Linked DNA regions of Homo sapiens: regions 1 and 2 are each linked to region 3. The links are contacts of gene promoters, found by promoter capture Hi-C in blood cells and fetal thymus (Javierre and others, 2016). All regions are on one chromosome and are shown on one strand. The core of a region is centred on a gene start or on the middle of the fragment in contact, and the rest is flanking DNA. Distances in the headings are between cores, read along the strand shown. Region 1 holds the start of ASNSD1 (asparagine synthetase domain containing 1). Region 2 holds the start of ITPRID2 (ITPR interacting domain containing 2). Region 3 holds the start of ZC3H15 (zinc finger CCCH-type containing 15).

Region 1 (4,742 bases), core at 1,987-4,486, 3.2 Mb before region 3:
TCACTGCAACCTCTGCCTCCCAGGTTCAAGCGATTCTTGTGCCTCGGCCTCCTGAGTAGCTGGGATTACAGGCACACGCCTGGCTAATTTTTGTATGTGCCTCAACTTCTAATATTCCATAAGTGACAATATCAGAAATATCTAACCAGCCAGTTATTACATAATCTTTACAAAGCTTTTAAGAGCTCAAACTCATTTCTTCCTGAATGTTAAAATGCAATTTGACACTATAACCATACACAAAGCAGTAGCTTACTTGTTTGTAACATATTAATGGAAATGGCATTAAATAACCATGTTACACATTTAGGAAAATCTATGTAAAAATTTTTTGGAGGGAGGGGAAGCAATGTATCCTTTTTTGTTCAATAATTATCCACATTCATTTAAAAGAAAAGTTTCTTCTCATCTCAATATAAAGTTCGTTTATATCAAAAGAAAACATCAAATTCAGGTATAAAACATCATTAGTGATTATAGCTCCAAGATACCAAAATACAACTAGTATCATTTGTTGCAAAGGCAATGTGAATGGCATATGATAGAAAAAAGACATCTTCAGCTATGAGATCTATCCATTTAAAAAAAGAATCTAGACACTTGCAATTTTAAAAGATGCTGAAATACTATACATTTTATTAAAGTATGATTAAATCTTATATATACTTCTTATAACTTTAATATATAGTTAACATAAATAAACCTCCCACATATTATTCAGAATTCCTATAATAACTCACCCTATTCTTCTTAAGGTTAGAAAGTTCATCCACCACAATTTTTTGTTCTTTAATCTATTGAAATAAAGAAAAACTCCTTAAGTCAGATGTTTTCAAAGTATGCTCAATGAAAATCCCTTAAGGGGTTGTTTTAAAATTAGAGATGGGATAAGGGGCTATGATGTACTGGTTTTCCAAACGGGCAGTTTGTGAATATACAGATCATTTTCAACAGGAGTCTCTGTGTGGGGGTACAGTTCAGGAAAAGCTGGAGGAGAAAAAACAGTGATTAGACTTGCAAAATGTTAGGTAACCCATTAAGACCAGACAGGGATTTTCGTGTTCATAACCAGCAATCATGCCAAGGACTACAGTTACTAAACAAGGTTTATACCTTTTGTTAAAAATATATGATATACACCAGGCCGGGTGCGGTGGCTCATGCCTGTAATCCCAGCACTTCGGGAGGCCAAGGCGGGCGGATCACCTGAAGTCGGGAGTTCGAGACCAGCCTGACCAACATGCAGACACCCCATCTCTACTAAAAATACAAAATTAGCCAAGCGTAGTGGCACATGCCTGTAATCCCAGCTATTCGGGAGGCTGAGGCAGGAGAACTGCTTGAACCCGGGAGGCGGAGGCTGCAGTGAGCCAAGATTGCACCACTGCACTCTAGCCTGGGCAACAAGAGTGAAACTCCGTCTCAAAAAAATAAATAAATAAATAATTTAAAAAATATATATATATGATATACACCAAAAGGAATTAAGTTGTGATTTAGATTGAAAATTAAGTTGTGATTTAGATTTAAAAAAAAGCAAATTGAATGAGGGGTGGGTTACTTTTTTCAATATTTTCATGATTTTATGTACTAAGTGCTGCAGTCAAACATTCAAATCAAGCAATGCCCTATTTGGGGACAGTAAGACCTATCATGTTCCATCTTGGTATTTTTCCCTCTTTTTATCTCAATGACTAGCATAGAGCTGGCACTGTTGAACTGGGCTTTTTTTTTTTTTTTTTTTTTGAAACAGGGTCTTGCTCTGTTACCCAGGCTGGAGTGCAGTGGTGCGATCACGGCTCACTGCAGCTTTGATCTTCCCGGGCTCAGGCGATTCTCACACCTTAGCCTCCGAGTAGCTGGGACTACAGGCCTGGGCCACCATGCTGGCCTGGGCTTCATTTATTTGTAGGGGAGGGCTCAACTAAGTGAAAACTAAGTTTCTTTTTAACTCTATTTATTTTGTGAACATGACTGATTACATAGTATCACAAGAGCCTCTAAAAGCAGCTTTTATCATATTTGTGCTACCTCACACACACCTCAGGGATCTGTAACCACCAGTATGCGTAAGTGGCTTGCTATGGTGGTAATCAGAATGGGCTGTGTGTCTTTTGAAAATTCACCCCCAATCCCCATGAATGTGCACCTTTCTGTCTCCCCCGTTGGCAGAGCTGTAGTAATGAGGTTGAATTCCAAGGCCAAATTTGTAAACATTCTTTGAGACTTAACATTTATACAGGGCTTTCCCATTTTAGGAATGACAGGTGTACATTTCACTTTACTTCAAAGAAGGTAACTGATACAGAAAGATTAAAGAGACTTGCCCAAGATGTCATTGTAAGTTTGGGACAGAACCAAAGTAGAATCTAGGACATGTAATACCTGAAGGGCTATAACCCTCGCCACCCCCATTTATCTTTAAAGGTTGTTTGTTTATGGCAGTTAAGGCTTATATTATATTGGCTTCCTCTCTCCCCCAGTTTGGTATGAGTGACAACCCAATGCGTGTTTTAGGACCATTGCTCTGGTTAACGGAGAAGCAGCAGCTAACAGGTGGATGAGGAGAGACCGCTTAGGAAGGCCTTGCCGGGGGCAGGGGTCCCGATAGCAGATGACGGTGGCTTATTTGGGGTGGTAAGAGTGTTCACGGTGATAAAGGGACATATTTGAAATGAGCTTCAAAGGTAGAACTGATAGGCTTCCATGATGGGGGTCAAGGATGGACCCCGGGTTGCTGGCATGGTTAACTGGATGGAGAATATCTTTGATGGAACAGATTTGGGGTGGGCGGTATTTCCAAAAGTTTAAAAAGACTAGGGAGGAAAACACCCAACCAAAACTCCGCCCCACTGTCACCTGGGTCCAGTCTCGGGACAAATTTCAAGATCTCCCTTTTCGCAACTGTTTTCAGAAAATAAAAGGACTAACTGTGGCTGTCAAGTGCTATGAATAAAAAGAGCAAAGTAGCAGGGCAAAGCCGAGGCCCAGGCAGGCCCCACGCTGCCCGCTGCGGACCACCTTCAGGGTCCAGTGGCGCCCGGTCCCGAGTCCAGGAGCCTTTTCGTCGCGTCTCACACTCACCTTGCTGCTTAGATCCTCCTTGTGTGGGGTCGAATTGTCGGTGGGGATCAGCACAGAGCTGTCCTCTGGTCGCGTCCCTCGGCTGGGCATTTCCACCGAGCGCAAGACACGCGGGATGGCTCAGCCCTGAAGGAGCCTACGGCATTAGCCACAGCGCATGCGCGCTTCCAGCCGCGCTCACCCTTTCTTTTCCCGCGAGTCTTACCAATAGCGTCTGCGCGCTCACTTGAACGCATGCGCAGGCCGGGTCTGGCCTGGGGAGGAGTTTCGCGCCTGCGCATGGCTGCTTAGGGAGCGAGTAAACAGTCTGGTTGCAAAATCTGAGGTTCCTGTACTGGCCTCTTGTGGTTGAGATGCAGAAACGCTCAGGTGGTTTCTTCATGACCTCTTATCTAGTATACTACGAGTTCTGTGCGCCCTCCAGTGGTAAATATGAAGAATAGTCGTGCAATAGAAACAGCGCTTAATATGATATTTATTATCTAGGGAAAGATGAAGCTAAGGAACAGATTTAAGAGATACCGTGTTGGCAAAAGAACTGTACAGACTTGGTAAAGTTTTGGTTAACTCGTGGTTAGGGTTGCCGGATAAAATACAGTATGAACTTCAGATGAATTAATAGTTTTTTAGTGCATCTATGTCCCGTGCAATATTTGCAATATCTCATTTCTGTGGAAAAAATGACTAAAACTTGGAAATAGGCAAAAGAGATTTATTTACTGGATGCTCTTTCAGTGCTGCTCTGGACTTGACTTTATTATATTGACTGGGCTGTTTTACAATTCTGTAGGGGCAAAGGTTAACTTTGGTAGAGATTTTGGTTTGGTAGAGATGCAAATAATTTTTTGTTGTACCAGATACCAACACAGGTTATGATTTATTGTTCTGCAACACATTAGTCAGTTTTGTATCTAACCCTGCATTCTGTCCTAACATTTCTTTATTAACATATGCCTAGCTTCTCTAATATTCTGTATTGGTTTTAAAGTCATCGGTTCCCTCACTAACCAATGAGTTGAATAAAAGTTTGACATGTATATATTTTATGTTCACATTAGAGACATGATTTTAGGTTTTTGATAATTATACTATATTATTGGAAATCTTAAGTTTCCACAGAGATGCCCAACTGGATTTATGTGATGAATCAAACTATCTGGCGAAAGAAATGTATACATCATGGGTTGTTTAAGGCCAGGCATGTTTTTTATTTGCTCTTACAGAAAACCCAAGTGGTTATATATTTTTCCTTTATAATTGATTTTTAAAGATTGTGTTTTCATTTCTGATTTGTACATTCCTGATAAGTTATTCAGGTATAACTTATACATTACTGATACATTGATAGCAGCAATGATTGGGAGTTTGGTTTTGTGGTCTAACCATTTGGTGGTATCTGTTGGATGATGGACGTCTAGTCTCATTGGTAGAGAGGTAGATAGGTGCAGTGGCTCAAACCTGTAATCGCAACCACTCGGGGCTGAGGTGGGAGGATTACTTGAGGCCAGGGGTTCAAATAAATAAATAAGAGAGGTGACAGAGAAGCGAGTTTGTAAGTCTTTTTGTTTATTGTTTGTGAGCTCAAATTAATTAATTACTTTTGTGTCCACTGAGAGGGAAGGAGGACAGCTATTTGAGATGTGGGCTAGTAAGGTTTT
Region 2 (4,637 bases), core at 669-3,168, 4.6 Mb after region 3:
GAAGGGTCTATGACACTTCCAATAAAGGGTACGAGTTCTGTAATAAAGAGTGTTCAATAAGGTTCCAGTCGATTCATCAAAACAAGGCATTAATATCATGGTAGCCAATATCTTGTCTGTCTTTAGAGGAGGCAAACTGGCATATGAATCACTTTCCACAACAAAACAAAACAAACTACCCTAACTCTAATATTTGAACAAAATATTAAGAAAATCTAAATTGAGAAAGCAAAAATATGCTCGAAAGCAAACACCAACAAAAGTTTAAAGGCTACATTCCTGATTTTACAACTAGCAAAGTGGAATAAGAAACAAGTACATTTTGCTGTAGTCAGATTTACGTGCAACATGATTCATCTCCTCTGTATTTTATCAAACATTTTTGTACCAGTTGCCAAAGCATGTAATTAAACAGATTTATGCAGTCTGAATGCTTTTAAAAGTTCTATTCCCTGAGAATTCCAGTGCCATCTGACAATTCCATGTTCAAGAAGTAAACTATAAGTACAAAGTTAGCTAGTTTTAATAGCTCCCCAAACAGAAACAAAATTAAAGCCCATTTAGTGTAGTTAGGTAAATTAAACTCGTCTAAAACACATTTGAAAGGAAAATGATTCCGTGCCAGTTGTACAGATGCCAAAACTAAAGCAAAACAAAATATCCTGTTCGAGATGTGAGAATTCTTTCAAATAAAAACAGAACAAATATGGCATGATTATCTGTTCTGGATTTCTGATCTCTGATGCTAACACGATGCGTGAGTAGCTCAAGTCCTAACTGTAAAGTCAACACGGTCACCAAATAATCAGCGGTCACAGCACTTCCATTTCTAATCGCTTAGAGGAGGAAGCTATCCGCCGGCTCACTTTCCGGTTTGTAGCTTACAACGGTCGCGGGACCCACAGGGACGCGGCCCGAGTGGCTCTGCTCCGGCGTCCCGTCCGCACGGATCTCCCCCGGGACGCGGGCGGACCAGGGAGCACTCACCGGCAGTCCTTGAGCCATATCGCGATCTTCTCGTTGGGCACGTTTCCTGGGGGTAGAGAGAGGGGACAGCACGTTACCACCCAGGAGCACTACGACGGCGGAGTCACCCTGGACCCTCCCAAGTAGGAAAATCTACCACGGCAAATGCAGCCTAAGCGACACGTCTCAGTGTCCCTTGGCAGGGAAATCGGATGGCACCCAGTTGTCTGTGTTGACGCTGGGGGCGCCTCGTTCAGCGCGCGCGTTTGAAGGTCGGAAGTGTCCCCTCTCCCCTCGGCCTACCGTGCCCGAGGCTCTCCCAGAACTCGTGGCAGGCGCCCAGGGCGCACGAGACTCTCCCCAGCCCACCAGCCTCCCCCCGGAGCCCGGCCGGGAGCACCGACCTCTTCCCCCCGCTGCCGGCAGCTGCGCGCCGGGGAGGTCCTCCTCCTCGTCCTCCTCCTCGTCCTGCGTCGTCGCTTCTGTGGACAGATCCTCCGTCTCCGACGCTTGCCAGGAGCTGCGGCACTTGGCCCAGGCCTTCCTCCTGCGACTCGCCACTTGCCACTCCAGTTCCTCCTCCGCCTCCGCCGACGACGACAGGGGCCGGTCCATGGCCGCACTGGGGGCTCCGCTACCCCAGCCGGACCCTGCGCGAGACAAGGCGGCGGCAGGGACCCCCGCCCTTGCTGTCAGCGCCCGGCCGGGCAGGGGGCCCCGGGGAGCTGAAGCGGGCGCCGGAGGAGGAGGAGGAGGAGGAGGGGACAGGGAGGGAGGGAGGGAAGGAAGGGGAGGGAAGGGGCGGAGGGCCGGCGCTTCACATGAAGGCGGCCGGGCGCGCGCGGGAGCGCTAGTGGCCCGAGGGAGCGCGGCTGGGAGCCGAGCGCCCGCCCGGCCCCTGCTCCCCACCCCCTGCCTGACGCGCCCGGAGCAGGCCGGCCGCTGCGCGTCTGCGCGCCTTCCCTCGGCGGCGGCCCACGCCCCCTTCCGGCCGGGGCCGCGCGGGGCGCGGTAGGGCGGGGCGCGCCCGGCGCGACGCGGAGCAGGCCAGCCCCCGACTACTGCCCGCGGAATGGGCAAGATTAGTTTGTTAATAATCTTTCCTCCTCTCCTCCTCCTCCTCCCTCACCTAAAAATAGAACGTAAGTGGGGAGGCCAAGTCTCACAAAACATCCCCCGCGAGAAAACAAGTGTCTGCTTGGGCACCCTGAAACATACACTTGAAAGAGTCGCCTGAATATAGACTCTTTAGTGTCCAAGGAATTGGGGTAAGGACGGAAAGAGGTGCTTGATTGGTGTTGCCAAAATGTAAAAACTGCAAAAGACTAAGCTTCCTGGAGTGCTACTTTCATACTTAAAGTTATTTATCGTGTTTATGTTATGAATGAAAATGAATTGTGAAAGGATATTTAATCTGGAAATTTCACATTGAAGTTGGACTTTGGTGAGGGAGAATAGAGGAAACAATTGGGACAATGTGGAGATAGTTGCTTGGATTTTGGTGAGACAGCATGATACAAGAAACAAATGATGTCAGGGTTCAAAACTTTTTAAAGCCAGCTTTGGCATTCCGTTTTGTTATGTTTAAATTCTCATTAGCAAAAATACTCAAATTCTATCCAAAACCAGACACAATGTGACAGACCTATCAAGCAGCATTGTTCCCCTAAATGTTACATCTGAACTATACATATAAGTAAGGCTTCCAATATTTTATTGTACTTGGCTATGCTCTGAAGAACAAGTTAGAACACTTTTTAAAATCTTAACGTGATTGAAAAGAATATTTTGCGTAGACAAAATATTTTAAGGAAGGAATTATTTTTCATTTGAAATTAAAATCCAGAGCATAGTAAAATTCCTAATGGAAGCATTCGAATTACAAGGTAATTAAGTGCATTGTCATTGATAGCTACAGGAAACCATAACTTTTGGAGAATTTGGAATGAAGAATGCTCTGGAGATGAAATAGTGCCTAGTTTTTGTCCAGGCATTTACACATAAGTCATAGACTACTAAAATAGCACACTGATTTTCCTGCCTTCATTCTTTCCTATCTCCTTTCTAGCGCATTGCTCTAGATTTACAATTCCAAGACATCTTCTAATGGTTTACTAATATCCCCAAGATCAAATCCAAAATCCAGACTAGCTTTCCAGAACCATCATAATATTCTCCTGAGTCTCATCTATGTACTGCCAAATGTCAGGGGAGTTAGAACAGTGATATTAATATCTCTATGGCTTGAAATTTCACTACTAGAAAATCTTTTCTTTGAACCTATAAGACTTTCTCAGCCTTCAAGGGTCCTGTAGTAGGATGCAGCTAACAGTTTAATGGCTCTCCAAAATAGGTCAGAGTCTCGCTGCCTGTGTGGAAGATGAAAAAGAGAATGAATAAAGAAGGTACCTAAGAAGAAGCATTGAAAGGGCTGGTCAAGTGCCACAAAATATGCTGCCTTCAAAGTTTTATCCAGGGTTCTTACGTATCCACCCTGTTCCTCTGCTGCTCCCAGCTTCAATTCTATCATATCTAAGTGCTGTTGCCTACTCTGTCTTTGCTAATTAATTCATTCCTGTTCTTTCTGTCCACTACCTTCATGACTTTCAAAATCTAGCTAAGCCAGAACTTTTTGACTCCACCATTCCACCACTCCTGATCACACCCCTCCCACAGGGATCTGATATACAACAGCATGTCTATGTCATTTATTTGGGGACTGGATTGTAGAGTAAATAATATGACTGGCCCTGGAAGGTATGTTTGGCTTACTAGCCAGATTGTAAATTGTGAGAGATGATAGAACATTCTTCAGTATTCTTGCACCCCTTACACTTTTAAATGCTGATCCCACAAGGGATAATGGGTCTTCTTGAGGTAGTTTCTGTTTTCTGTGTTCTTCAAAGAGACACCTAAATTGATTATTTTAAAATTTGCTTCATGTTATTTCTATAATGCTTATATTTTATTTAGGTTTGCAGTTGTTTAAATACACTTTCAGATGACAACAACAAAGAATTCTTGTGAAAGGCAATAATTAACCATAGTTTAAAAAAAAATCAAACAACCAGAGTCAAGTAATAAGGGGGAAAAATTACCAGCAGGTAACAAAGTAGAATATATACATTATTCAGTTTCCGGTAGCACAAATGTGTGCTTTCTTCTACATGGCATTTTTTAATGAAATATGTTGAGGGTATAGAAGTAATAGAGAAGGAAATCCTTGAAGTAGTATGCTATTGCCTTGAAAAGTAAGGTTTTTTCATTGTATTCTCAACTTTTACAGATGTTTTAAAATGCCCAAGGTATTTCATTTATTCGATAATGAATACTACACATGAAGAAAGTCTGCATGTTTGCTTCTTCGAGGATTTTCTCCCAAACAAGTACTATCTTGTACACCAACTGCAAATATACATTGCGAAGCTCTACATAAAGAGTATTGTCTGGGCCAGGCATGGTGGCTCACACCTGTAATCCCAGCACTTTGGGAGGCTGAGGCGGGGCAGATCACCTGAGGTCAGGAGTTTGAGACCAGCCTGACCAACATGGAGAAACCCTGTCTCTACTAAAAATACAAAATTAGCCATGCATGGTGGCGAATGCCTGTAATTCCACCAACTTGGGAGGCTAAGGCAGGAGAATAGCTTGAACCCAGGAGGCAGAGGTTG
Region 3 (4,525 bases), core at 1,461-3,960:
ACATCCAACGGTACTGCAGGTTAGGTTAAAGAATGATAGCACAAAACACAAGAAAGCAAAATGCAAGCATATTCAGCAAAAGCAAGAAGCTCAACAACTGCAATTAACTGAGGGTGTAGTCAAGACCAGTCCTTCCCAGAGAAATAGACACACCACCCAGATCCCCTAATGATGCCTATCCTGTAGCTCTAATGTATACAGATGATTGGACACTCTCATGCCAACTCAGCGTATGCCCCAAGGTTAAGGTCCCTACAGATGACTCCATTAGCCACAAAATAATCCATTCTGGCTGCCGAGATTTTAACAAACACCGCCTCTAACCCATTTTGGAATCCTAAGTTTGTTTTTCAAGCGTCAATTATAACGTCTTTTGGTTCCTCCAAGTAGAGAGAGACACTAAACACAAAAGGTGACATATTGTAATGGTTCCCATACAAGAGAATACTTTTCAGCAATAAGGAACATACTAGAAATATACACAACATGCATGGATCTCAAAAACACTGCATGGTGTGAAAGCAAGAAGAAGGACACAAAGGCTACCTACTGTATAATTTATATGAGTTCCTAGAGTGGTAAAAACTAATCTATCCTGTCAAAAAAATTAGTGGCTGCACGTGTGGAAAGAATTAAATAGAAAGAGGCACAAAACAAATTTAGTGGGGTGATAGAAATGTTTCAAGTCTTAATTAGGGTGGCAGCTACCTGGGTGAATAAATTCCTCAAAACACATAGAACTATACATCTAGAACCTGTACATTTTATTTTACATAAGTTATACCTCAACAAAAAATAAATTAAAAAAATAATATATATTAAATGTAGAAAACACAAAATCGGGCTTAATTTCACCACTTTGTTGTTGTTAATATTTTTAGTTAAAAAGTGCAGTTGTCTTATTTTGCATTTTTCTTTGGAGATACCTTCATTATTGAAACTAAAATTGCTTTCTCTTTAGCTAAAAAATAATTTCGTCACAAGATGACTAGAATCATAACATATGCATCATTTTAAAAGTTGATGGATACTATAAACAACTTTCACACATAATTCCTTAAAATAAGAATACTAGTCCTACTAATTAAAAATAAAACAATTAGATATAGAGAAAGCTCTACAATGCATGAAGTATAATTTAAATTGTCTAAATTATTACATAACATTTAATTTCAATGGGAGTTTTACTTCGTATCAGGGTCCAATCTCGAGGAAAACGACATCCCTAAAATGTCCTTGGTTTTCATAAAAGTGAATGCCATCCGATCAGCAACCCCTGAAATTTACCTAAGTGCCACGAATCCAGATTGTTCAAATAAGGTAATAGAAAACACAGATGTGAAGGTAATATTTTGTTTTTAAGTGTCTGGCTATAGTACTTCATGACAGTTTTAAACTGTACAAATTGGCAATAAGAATACCAGTTCTCCTCCAAAGTTGGAACCTGGCCAAGTATAGCAAAATTCTTAAGCATTTTCTTAAATCCAATGAGCAGACTTTACACCTTATGCGGTAAAATGGTCATGGCTTTTTCTAATTATATCCAAAGTACAAGAGGTCCTATTTAATTATGAGGAGGATTAATAGCAGAAATCGAGGGAAGAAATACCTCGTTGGGGTCTGTATGGTATGTTTACGTAATGTCAAATATGGTTCATCTTTTAAGGAAACTCAATTCAGTTGTTGGAAAACAAGTGCACAACATGTAAGAACGTCAATAGCGTTCCTTGGCCATTAAAGGGCTACAGGCTCAATGTGTTAAACGAATATATATACACACACATATATACACATATACACACACATAGATGTATACATATATACACGCGCACACACACACATATATCTCAAACTGGGTTACGGGACTTCACACAATTAGTGACACTGAAACCTAATCTCTTTTAAGGCGTTATCCTATTTAATCCACTTCAGAATGTAAGTACCAAGCTCTGCGTTCAAGACCCTGGGTTGTGACGGAAAGTCCTTCCATTCTTTATGGGACTTTAAACATTTCAGAGGTGGATCGAAAAAGCCACCAAGTCGTAATTTGTTGGTTCAAAAGAACTAACAGTACCATCCCTGGGTGACGGGTAAAGAAATAACGAACACAAAGACTCGTCATGAGTCGGTCTTCCAGAAAGACGCTGGCCCGAGACCGTTCAGCGTATTTCTTCACACATAACCTTGGAAAATCTCCTCAATTCTGAGAGGACTAGCGAAGGATAAAACCCTGTGCCAGTCCCGAGGGGTCATTTCGCACCCGGGTGCATGGGTGGGTGAACACGGGCGTGTGGGCGGAGAGGCAAAGCCCAGGTGCGGGGGCGCCAGCAGCGTCACTATAGTAATGAGAGAGCTAGCGTCATCAGGGGCTGGAGAAGGGGCAGTGGGCCACACAGGCCTAAGGGAGGAACACGTGGCCCGAGGAAGCGAGCCGGCTCCCAGGGAAGCCCGGAGCGGGGAAGTGGCTTTCCGGAGGGCTCGCGGCGTGAGTGGGGGAGGGGTGGGTACTCACTTCGATAATCTTCTCCTTCTTTTTTTGCTCCGCCTTTTTGCTGCCCCCGGCCTGAGCCTGTTTCTTGGGGGGCATTGCGGAGACAGATGGCACCGGCCAGACTTACGCGCAGCTGAATACCGTCAGGGGTTCTGGCCCTGCGGCAGGACGAGGAGGAAGACCGGGGCCTCACTCGCCGCACCGCACGGAAAGCGAGTCGCTCATTGGCCCCGCAAACGCGGCCTTTGCGACAGGTCGATGTCGCAGAGCATAGTGGGTAGCGAGGAGCGGCTCCCGGAAGCGGAGCTGCGCGTGCGCGCCCACTGCGTCCCACTAGGAGGGGGCAGGGACGGGACGTGGGAAAATGACTACGCGTCACTCGTGATGTCGCGCATCCGATAGGCCCTTTTCAGATGGCAAAAGGCCTGAGGGTGAATCTGGGCGAGCTGGTTGAGTCCATGCGTTTGTGCTTCCTCTCAGTCCACTTTCGCTTACGATGGGGCGACTCTTGTCCATCGTCACCTCACCGGGAAACTTTTCCTGCCGGGCCAGTTAATGGTCCCCTGTACCATCCCCATCCTGAGTGACTACTAAGCAGCCGCAGCGACTCGGGGTTGCTCCGTGACCACGTTACTCAGTTAACCTTCTTGTTCCCTGGAGAGGCGGAGCTGAATGGCCCGTGAGTGTCGCGTGCTTCAGATTCCTGCGAAGGATTATTTAAAAAATGGAAAAAGTTAACTTTCATTTGCAGGGTCCCTTTCATTTGAAGAGCATCTGAGATGGCGTCCCAGATAAGGAGGCACTTGAACTCCTTAGAAGTACTGTATTAAGTTATTTTGAGACTTTAGGAGAGTGCCTAGGTGATTCCTAAAAATTCCTTTATAACGTGAAAGTAACCAAACTTAGTTAGAACTTAGTTTAAGTGCTTGGTAGCTCCAGAAATTCCTTGGCACATTACACACACTATTTCATTTAGTTATCACAACGACACTTAGGTGGGAGTTGTTACTGTTTTCGTTTTATAGATGAAGCAGAGAAAGGAAGAAAGATGCCCAAAGTTATATTAAGGACAGAGCCAGCAATTGTAATCTTGGCAGTCCGGCTTCAGCCTATATGCCTATTACCTAACATTACAAACTTAGATCCTGTTTGAAAAGGTACTTGAATGATGAATGGGACCCATTGATATTTGTACAAACGAAAATACTATTTTTTAAAAATGTACAATGCTTAGCTGTTATTTTTTAAAATGATTATTGTTTAAACTATTTCTGTTAAGAAGCATTGTGGAACCAAGAATCATCTTTATAGATAAAAGTTTTTTTATCTTTTTCATTAATTTGAATAGGGAGAAAACGATAAGCCCCCCTACTTAGTCAAATTGATTATTTGCTTAGTAATTTTCTACGTAAGATAATGTCAAGGAACCCCAAGTATGTTTTGTGTGTGTATGTGTGTGTGTAGAAGAAATGTGATAGCTACTAAAAAGAATTGTGTCGAGAATGGCAGGTGTATGTTGACACACTTTTTTTCATTTGGGCTCATATTGGCAGGTTAATGGGCTCCCCCCCTTTTACATATTTTCATCTTTATTTTTTGTAATTGTCATAGTTCTTGTCAGAGGATGGAGGGATGCAGCCAGCCCCCTCTTTACTCAGTATTATTATCCATTTGATTATTTGGGGATCGTCTCCTTTGAGACTTTGTTTGCATATGGAATGTAGTTGTCTTAACTTCCTACTTTTAGTGCCCCAAAGATGCCCTTTGGGCCTTTGATTTTGAGTAATTTTACTGATTATTATTATGAGGCAAATGAATTATAAGTAACAAATATGGGGAAGTTACAAAGAATCTAGAGTCTCATAATGTTATGATAATGGCTCCAGTTTCATGGTTCATAACTTCTTCTGTCTCCTGACCTTTGCTTTCGGTTTTTTCCTCTGAAGTGTAGCCCAGGTAGAGAACAAAGATCCTTTCTTGCCTCAAGTGGAAAATACACATTTCTGAATATAGTACATGCTCTTATAGCACTCT

The links. Contacts are between HindIII fragments. The CHiCAGO score rates a contact against its expected background, and 5 or more counts as called.
Region 1: a contact is called between the fragment with the promoter of ASNSD1 here and the fragment with the promoter of ZC3H15 in region 3, in 1 of 17 cell types (naive CD8 T cells). The highest score is 7.9, in naive CD8 T cells.
Region 2: the fragment with the promoter of ITPRID2 here is called in contact with the fragment with the promoter of ZC3H15 in region 3 in 1 of 17 cell types (total B cells); the score reaches 8.3 in total B cells.

Annotation. Positions count from the first base shown.
Region 1 is chr2:189,659,953-189,664,694 of GRCh38, reverse strand. ASNSD1 (asparagine synthetase domain containing 1) reads right to left here and starts at 3,236. Exons shown (of 6, transcript NM_019048.4): 1 at 3,085-3,236; 2 at 741-794. ASDURF (ASNSD1 upstream open reading frame) reads right to left here and starts at 3,236. Exons shown (of 4, transcript NM_001353493.2): 1 at 3,085-3,236; 2 at 741-794. The coding sequence starts at 3,174. RefSeq lists an enhancer at 2,989-3,178. The HindIII fragment of the contact is 6,437 bases long and covers 178-4,742 here.
Region 2 is chr2:181,889,011-181,893,647 of GRCh38, reverse strand. It overlaps ITPRID2 (ITPR interacting domain containing 2), which reads right to left and starts at 1,918. Exons shown (of 18, transcript NM_001130445.3): 1 at 1,371-1,918; 2 at 988-1,033. The coding sequence starts at 1,581. RefSeq lists silencers at 1,282-1,421, 1,712-2,041. The HindIII fragment of the contact is 2,528 bases long and covers 1-2,298 here.
Region 3 is chr2:186,484,445-186,488,969 of GRCh38, reverse strand. ZC3H15 (zinc finger CCCH-type containing 15) reads right to left here and starts at 2,710. Exons shown (of 10, transcript NM_018471.3): 1 at 2,513-2,710. The coding sequence starts at 2,587. It overlaps LOC105373785 (a long non-coding RNA gene), which reads left to right and starts at 2,970. Exons shown (of 2, transcript XR_001739147.3): 1 at 2,970-3,170. It also overlaps the pseudogene DPRXP1. RefSeq lists an enhancer at 2,601-3,080. The HindIII fragment of the contact is 12,604 bases long and covers 1-4,525 here.